2 separate regions of the Homo sapiens genome follow, and region 1 is linked to region 2. The links are contacts of gene promoters, found by promoter capture Hi-C in human tissues and cell types (Jung and others, 2019). All regions are on one chromosome and are shown on one strand. The core of a region is centred on a gene start or on the middle of the fragment in contact, and the rest is flanking DNA. Distances in the headings are between cores, read along the strand shown.

What was found. Contacts are between HindIII fragments. The study calls those that stand out against the background at their distance.
Region 1: a contact is called between a fragment that was not itself captured here and the fragment with the promoter of SGSM3 in region 2, in 1 of the 25 tissues and cell types used here (dorsolateral prefrontal cortex).

Annotation. Positions count from the first base shown.
Region 1 is chr22:39,743,823-39,748,126 of GRCh38, reverse strand. It overlaps ENTHD1 (ENTH domain containing 1), which reads left to right. Exons shown (of 7, transcript NM_152512.4): 7 at 3,844-4,304. Among named protein-coding and RNA genes, the nearest start is that of ENTHD1, 150 kb to the left of the region's middle. The HindIII fragment of the contact is 5,554 bases long and covers 1-4,304 here.
Region 2 is chr22:40,368,225-40,372,044 of GRCh38, reverse strand. It overlaps SGSM3 (small G protein signaling modulator 3), which reads right to left and starts at 1,451. Exons shown (of 22, transcript NM_015705.6): 1 at 1,357-1,451. It overlaps ADSL (adenylosuccinate lyase), which reads right to left. Exons shown (of 13, transcript NM_000026.4): 13 at 2,678-3,820. RefSeq lists silencers at 1,066-1,235, 1,296-1,405 and an enhancer at 1,556-1,765. The HindIII fragment of the contact is 4,461 bases long and covers 1-2,958 here.

The sequences.
Region 1 (4,304 bases), core at 432-2,931, 620 kb after region 2:
CAGGTACACACCACCATGCCCAACTAATTTTTGTACTTCTTGTAGAGAAGGGGTTTCGCCATGTTGCTCAGGCTGTTCTCAAATTCCTGGGCCCAAGCTATCCTCCCACCTCGACCTCCCAAAGGGCTGGGATTACAGGTGTGAGCCACCATGCCCAGCCGGGTCCTAGAATCTCATCAAGAATAGATAAGTTCTGTAAAGTGATGCACCGATCTTGCCTCAAATATCCCTACCAAATGGTTATTCAGGCTGTGCATGAGCTCTGAGCATCACTCACCATTATTATTTTCGTGTGTGAAGAACCATGACAATGAGAAAGTTTTTTTTTTAATGAAGTGGGCTAAAATCTGTTTTCTGTAAGTTCTACCTGTTGATCCCAGTTCTAGCTCCTGCAAACTAAGAGTAATGGAAGGTATTATTATTAAGGTTTTCTGATTGTCTTCAAATAATTAGATATAGCCTCTCATCCTTCTACCATCTCTTTTCGGGTAAAGATTAGCATATCCATCAACCATTTATTATAGATAAGATGTCAAGTCCCCTCACTGTCCTGGTTACCTGCCTTCTAAATTTTATACTCAAAATTTAACATAATTCTATAATACAGTAAAAATAATTCTAATGTAATAGAATTGTGTAGAAGTATAGAATTGTGATTAAGATCATATTCTATGACATCAGAGAAACTTGAATTTGAATCCCATCTTTCCCCTTTTCTAGCCTTGTGGTCTTGGGAAAGATTTTTAGCCTCTTTCAGATTCCCTTGCCTCATATTTGAAACGGGGTTATAAAACCTACTCCATCTGGTGCTAAACAAAGAGAATTTAAAAACAACTATTTGAGGGGGCACAGTGGCTCACAGAGGTAATCCCAGCTTCGGGAGGCTGAGGAGTGAGGATCACTTGAGGCCAGGAGTTTGAGACCAGCCTTGCCAATGTAGCAAGAGCCCTTCTCTACAAAAAATTCAAGAAAAGAGCCAGGCATTGGTGGCCCACACCTGTAGTCTCAGCTACTAGGAAGGCTGAGGCGGGAGGATCGCTTGAGCCCAGGTTGAGGCTGCAGTGAGTCATGACTGCACCACTGCACTCCAGTCTGGGTGACAGAGCAAGGTCCTGTTTCTAAAAAAAAGAAAAAACAAAACAAAACAGGCATTTGAAAAGTGGTTAAGTCCTTAGACAGGTGAACAATTAACCATGAATACCCACCTACCTCTGCAACCCATGGCAGAGTCTGAAGATTTGTTTTCTGGAGAGGGCAGATGAAAGGTCTCTGAAATGAGGGATGCTAGGTAGAGTTACAAGTGTGGGCACTGTCACCAAAACCACAGGATTATGTGATGATATGTAAACCACATGCTGAATGCTGCAGCCCCCTCCCCCTGCTGGCCTCCCAGCACCCTGGTAGCTAGACCTTTACCCTCTAGGTAGGAGATAGGATAACTTTTCTCCTAGAACCTAACTGGCCTAGAGGAAAGAACTAAAGATACTGATATTAGTGGTTCCCCAACAAATGACTATTCACTGAAGCTCAAAGTTGACAAGTGCCATACACACACTCAACGTTCCTTTCAACTTTTAATCCTCCACACTTAAACATAAGCGGGCAGCAAGGGGTACCAACATCTGAAAAAAGAAAACTTCTAATATAAAACATTGAAACAAAAACAAAGAAAAATAATTTTGAGGAAACATACACTATGAAGGGAAAGGAAAAGTTTTTCAAAGAAGCTTATTATCCTCAAAGAAATAAGAGAATACAGTATGTGAAACAAGAACAAGACATTACAAAAAGAATTTCTGAAAACCAAAAAAAAGAGCTCTTGGAAATTTAAAAATATAATAGCAGAAATATAAGCAATCAATGAGAGGATTGGAAGCTAAAGTTGATAAAATCTACATTGAAGTAAAGCAGAAAGATGGAGGCGGGGAAAATGGGAAAGAAAAGTAAGAAAATTAGAAGACTAGTCCAAGAGATCTAACATCTGACAAGAGGAGGTTTTGAAAGAGACAACAGAGAAAACACAGAGGAGAAAATAAGTGATTAAATCATTTAGAATAATTTTCTGGGGCTGAAGGAAATAGGTCACATGATTGAGTTGACCTCAGTGAGTGAAAATAGTCTCACTTCAGGGTACATCACTGAGAAGTTTCCAAACCCTCTGAAACAAAGAGGAAATTCTGTAATGCTTCAGAGATAAAACAGGTTACATGCAATGAATAAGAATTCGAATGGCTCCAACCCCTGCACAGCAATACTAGAAACAAGAAGACAGTGAAATGTGGCCTTCAAAATTCTGAAAGAAGGATTTCTGACCTAGAATTCTTTAACCAAACGATCATTAAGCCTAAAAGCAGAGTACAGACATTTTCAGACATGCAGGTTCTCAAAACTTTTACTTCTCATGGCTATCGTCATTAACATGCCCACTACCATCTTTCCACCTTTTTAATCCAAAGATAGTCTGTCTCGATTAGCCTGACCTAGATTCCTAACTGTTCTTGGCTTTTCTTGACCATGTGCTGATGAAGTTCCTGCTTTCCTTTTCATGTCCCTGCTGCTGCATCGGCTGAGAATATATTTCATCCCCAAAAAAGTTTTGTGATTGGAATTTTTCCTGAGAAGTGGAGATAGGCCATGGAAAGCTTTGAAGCAAAAAATAGAAGCTGCCTGCCCTGGCCATAGTTTTTACAGGAGGTCCAATTTAGTTTAGAAGGGACATGAATATGTAAAGCAAAATAAAATAATGTAGAAAAATAAGCCATGTGTTCTCATTAGTAAGCATCAATTTCCCTCTTCTGTGACTTACAATGGAATTTTTTTTTAAGTAGTAAGTTCAGAGTTCGTTGCAAAGAGTTTAGAACTGGATTCCACCAATTTGTATCACATATCATAAGTGAATGTAAATAGATATTCCAGGAAGAAGAGAAAAAAGTTCCATGTTTAAGAAAGCTTGGAAGACACTTGAATAAATTACCGAAGATTTCTCAGAACTTTAAATGCACTGATGGACACTGTTAATCTCCTTTTGGGAGGCACAGTATGCAACTGCCCAGGTGTATTGACTATGAAGCCTGTTTTTACAAAACATCTTCTAACATCTGAAGGAACACAGTGTTTCTCAGAAAAGTTTGGGAAATGATTTAGAATAAAGTGTGGGAGATTTAATATGATTTTGCCAGAAAGGAAGTAAAAACTTTCCCAAATATGTAATTTTATGGAAAAAAAGGCTTAGAATGCTTTTTACTTCACTTAGTTTCTTGGTGAGAAAAAAAATGATTATATACGTGTGCTAAAGTATTCTAGATTTCAGATGTGTTGGACTTCAGTCTTGATTATATTTCACTATAGACAGAAAAATATTTATTTCACTAACTTTTGGGTACTTGTAGTTGGTAGTTCATTTTGCCATAATAATCTCTACAGGAAAAAAAATTAAAAAGTTGAAGGAATCTGTTACAGGTTTCTCACTTTCTACTTTAAATACCAACTTAAAATGCTGGCAGTCAGTAGAATGGGGTTTAATACTTTTCTACTCTCTCTGATTAAGTTTAGTGTAAAAATATGTTGGGCAGGGTTTGAGTCAAGATGAGTCAAGATGAATATTGATAATTCTATTTTAGTTTCATTTCCATGGTATTATTGATATATAATACATCTGTAGATTTTCTTAGTTTCCTGCTTTGGGTTTTTTTAAGCTTATTATGAATAGTTAACATTTAAAATTCTAAGCAGTTTATTTATGTTGAGCCCTTCCAGATAGGCTTTTACATTATAAAATTATTTTAGCTATTACTCTCATTTGTATGTTGCATAAATCTTTTTTCTCTCATTTACACATTTTAGTTTCAACTGCTTCTGAGGGAGCATCTTCCTTTTCTCCTTTATCCATGTCATCTCCTGATTTAGCCTCTCCAGAGAAGTCAGCTCATCTCTTATCACCAATTCTGGCCGGACCTTCCTTCTGGACTCTGTCCCATCAACAGTTGTCTTCTACCTCCTTTAAAGATGAAGATAAGACAGCCAAGCTGCATCACTCCTTTGCTTCTAGGGGCCCAGTGTCTTCTGATGTAGAGGAAAATGATAGCCTCAATCTACTGGGAATTCTTCCAAATAACTCTGATTCTGCTAAAAAGAATATAAGTCACATTTCTAGTAGTCACTGGGGGGAGTTTTCCACCCAAAATGTAGACCAGTTCATCCCTCTGTCCTGTTCTGGTTTTCAGTCAACCAAAGACTTCCCCCAGGAACCTGAAGCAAAGAATTCCATTAGTGTTCTTTTAAGGGAGGTAAAACGTGCGATCGCT
Region 2 (3,820 bases), core at 202-2,701:
TTATCAAAAGCCAGGAAAGATATCTATAGAATTACAAATTAATCGGGCCTGGCGCAGTGGCTCACGCCTGTAATCCCAGCACTTTGGGAGGCCCGAGACGGGCGGATCACCTGTGGTCAGGAGTTCGAGACCAGCCTGGCCAACATGGCGAAAAACCCCGTCTCTATTAAAAATACACAAATTAGCCGGGCGTGGTGGCGGGCGCCTGTAATCCCAGCTACTCGGTAGGCTGAGGCAGGAGAATCACTTGAATCCGGGAGGCGGAGCTTGCAGTGAGCCGAGATCATGTCATTGCACTCCAGCCCGGGCAAGAGCGAAACTCCCGTCTTAAAAAAAAAATAGAAAAGAAAAGAAAAGAAGAATTACAAATTAATCACCAAGAACAGAAATAGTGTAAAAACAAAGATGTAATTCAACTGTTTAGAGTGCAGAGATAATTGGAACTAAAAGAGCAAGAAAAGCGGGAAACATATGTACCTATAAACCTAATCACAAACCTGTCACAAAAACTACGAGTAAACGAGTCGAAGTTGAAAATGAGTTTTTGTGAATCAGAGTCTGATTTGACTTGAATTTACTAAGAAAGAATAAGAAAGGTGTAGAACATTCCAGGACATCTCTATCCCACCGCAAAACAAAAAAGAGCCATCAACCCACCACAAACGTGCAGCGTGAGACTGGAAGATACACTAGTCACCCAGTCACTGAAAACAACCTTTGAAACATCTTTATTTTTCTTTCCAAATAAAAAAGAGCCTAGGTCAGTAAACTAAGTATGAGAATAATTTTCAAAATTCCAGTCCTAACCACACCGGATGATTCTGGCTAACGTATGCCTCAGTTTCCCCCGTGCTAAAATGCAAACACACCGGTGTTCCGAGTCTCGGGCCTGGATCCGAGCCCGGGTTCTGCACCTGGATCTGAATCTTAAAGGGAAAACCGCAAGTTAAACCTGAGGAGGAGTCTGCAGCTGTCCCGGTGCCAGAGCCAGCCAGGCTCTTTTTAGAAAGCCCCCCGCCTCAGGCGCGGTTTTCGTAAAACCGCTCCCGGCTGCCAGCGCGGTGGATTCCGGCTGGCGCCCCGAACACCTGAGGTGGCCTCGGCCGTCTAGGGGCGGCCGCACCGGAGGACGCAGCCGACCTCCCCGCCCCGCCGCGTCCCCGGCCCCCATTCCAACGGCGACGCGAGCAAGGTCGGCCCGGCGGCTCTCCGGCCCGAGGCGGTGCTTCTCTCGTGGGCGCCTTCGGCCCATACGACCCTCGGTCGGACAGTCCGACCACAGCCGCCCCGCAGCCCCCGCCTGAGGGGAACTTGTAGGCGCCGGTGGGTCTCCGCTGACTCCCGCCCCGCACTCACCTGCCCCACGGGCCACCTCAGCGCCAATCCGGGTCGGGTTAGCAGCTTCCCCACTCGCACCCAGTCAGCGCTCAGCGGCGCCTAAGCGCACGCGTGGCGGGGCGTGGCATGGGCGGCCGCGGGTCATGCTGGGGGCTGTAGTCGTTCCCGCCCACTAGGCGGGGCGCGTCCAGGGGCTTTGCGCCCCCATCCCAAGGCCAGCATGCATAGCGATGATTTCTTCGTCTGCACCGCAGCCTGAGAAGCTTGGGACAGTATGGTGTGGACCAGCAGTCAGGGTGGTGGGAGATAGACGCTGCAAATAACTTGCTAATTTTTTTTTTTTTTTTTTTTTGAGATGGAGTCTCGCTCTGTCACCCAGGCTGAAGTGCAGTGGCGTGATCTCGGCTCACTGCAACCTCCACCTCCCAGGTTCAATCAGTTCTCTGCCTCAGCCTCCCGAGTAGCTGGGATTACAGGCGCCCGCCACCACGCCCAGCTAATTTTTTTGTATTTTTAGTACAGTATTTTTAGTAGAGACGGGGTTTCACCATGTTGGCCAGGCTGGTCTCGAACTCCTGACCTCAGATGATCTGCCCGCTTCAGCCTCCCAAAGTGCTGGGATTACAGGCGTGAGCCACCGCGCCAGGCCGGAAAACGAAATTTTCTGAGTACCTTCTGTGTCAGATTCTATGCTGTGCAATTCCCATCTCACCAACCCTCACATCCACCTAGGCTTCATATCACCTTTCTAGGGACTCCTAACCCTCGTGCTTCCACTAAAGCTGTGTTTACAAACATCAGGCTCTCCTGGTTCTTAAATGAAACTGAGCATCAGCCAGGGAAAGAGGGCATTAAGTGTCCAGGTGTCTGACTTCAGCTGAGCAGACATTTCATCAGTTGCCCCAAGTTCTGCCCAGAACCTGACATCTGGGTAGTTCTGATGCTGGAGTCCGTGTGAATTTAAACCAATCTTAAAGAAAATACAACAGCCTGGGTTAACAGAGTGAGACCCTGTCTCTACAAAAAACAACAAAAAATGAACCACGTGTGGTTGTGTGTGCCATAGTCCCAGCTACTCAAGAGGCTGAGGTGAGAGGATCGCTTGAGCCCAGGAAATCAAGGCTGCAGTGAACTGTGGTCATGCCACTGCACTCCAGCTTGGGCGACAGAGCAAGATCTTGTCTATATATATATATAAAAGATAGATATATGAATGTATATTATATATAATATATATGAATGTATATTATATATAATATATATGAATGTATATTTTATATATATACATAAATGTACATTTAATATATATATGTTTTCCAGTGAACACGCAGACCACCCATCAAATTAAAATGTTACATGGGAAAATCAGATTACAAAGTTGCATACAAGTATGTAAATACAAAAATAAAGGAGAATGGAAAAGGAAAGAAGACAAGAGATGCACCAACAAATCCACCCATTCAAATAGTCCAGGAAGAAACCAGGTCAAATCGCCAATCACTGGAGATCATTAGTCTAACAGAATTGTTAGGACAGGAACAAGACTGTTATTTCCTTATTTTCTATGAGGAAATGTATTAACTAAAATCCATGGTATCCTATATCCCCAGTATCTGTTATGTAATATAAATTCTCACATTACAGATAAACTGATAGTAGTTGCTGCCTCCAAGTTGCCCATAGCAGAGAAGGAAGTAGACAGAATATCTGGTCAGAGTCCCATGACTTAATTTCCTTGTGTCAGACTTAGTATCCTTTCAAGATTTTTTCTGTTTTGTTTTTTCAGATGGAGTCTCGCTCCGTTGCCCAGGCTGGAGTACAGTGGCATGATCTTGGCTCACTGCAACTTCTGCCTCCCAGGTTCAAGCAATTCTCCTGTCTCAGCCTCCCAAGTAGCTGGGACTATAGGCGCCTGCCACCACGCCCGGTTGATTGTATTTTTAGTAGAGACGGAGTTTCACCTTGTCGGTCAAGCTGGTCTCGAACTCCTGACCTCAGGTGATCCACCTGCCTCGGCCTCCCAAAGTGTTGGGATTACAGGCGTGAGCCACCACCGCACCCGGCCCTTTTCAAGATTTTTTAGAGATGAACAGAGTAACTCTTTCTGGAAGTTGAGCAAATGGCTCTATGCTATCCCTGCTTGCTTGCTATACTAGCCTATGTTCAGAATTTGGTTTTCAGAATTGTCTTCTATTGTTTTTCCAAAAGGATAAGCTCTTCTCTTAGGTTGGCTTTAAGTGACAAGGGCTCGCTGTCACCCAGCCTGGACTAAACTCTTGGGCTCAAGTGACCCTATCGCCTCAGCTTCCCAAGTAGCTGGGACTGTAAATGCGCATCATCGCAACCTGATTTCCTGGCTACTTTTAAATAAAACTGGAACCGATTCAGCCTCCTCTCCCTCACAACATTCCTAACGAGGCAGTCTTCCAGCTTCTGCCTGACCTGGGGGATTGAGTGTAGGTTGCTAATCTCAGTGGTTCCA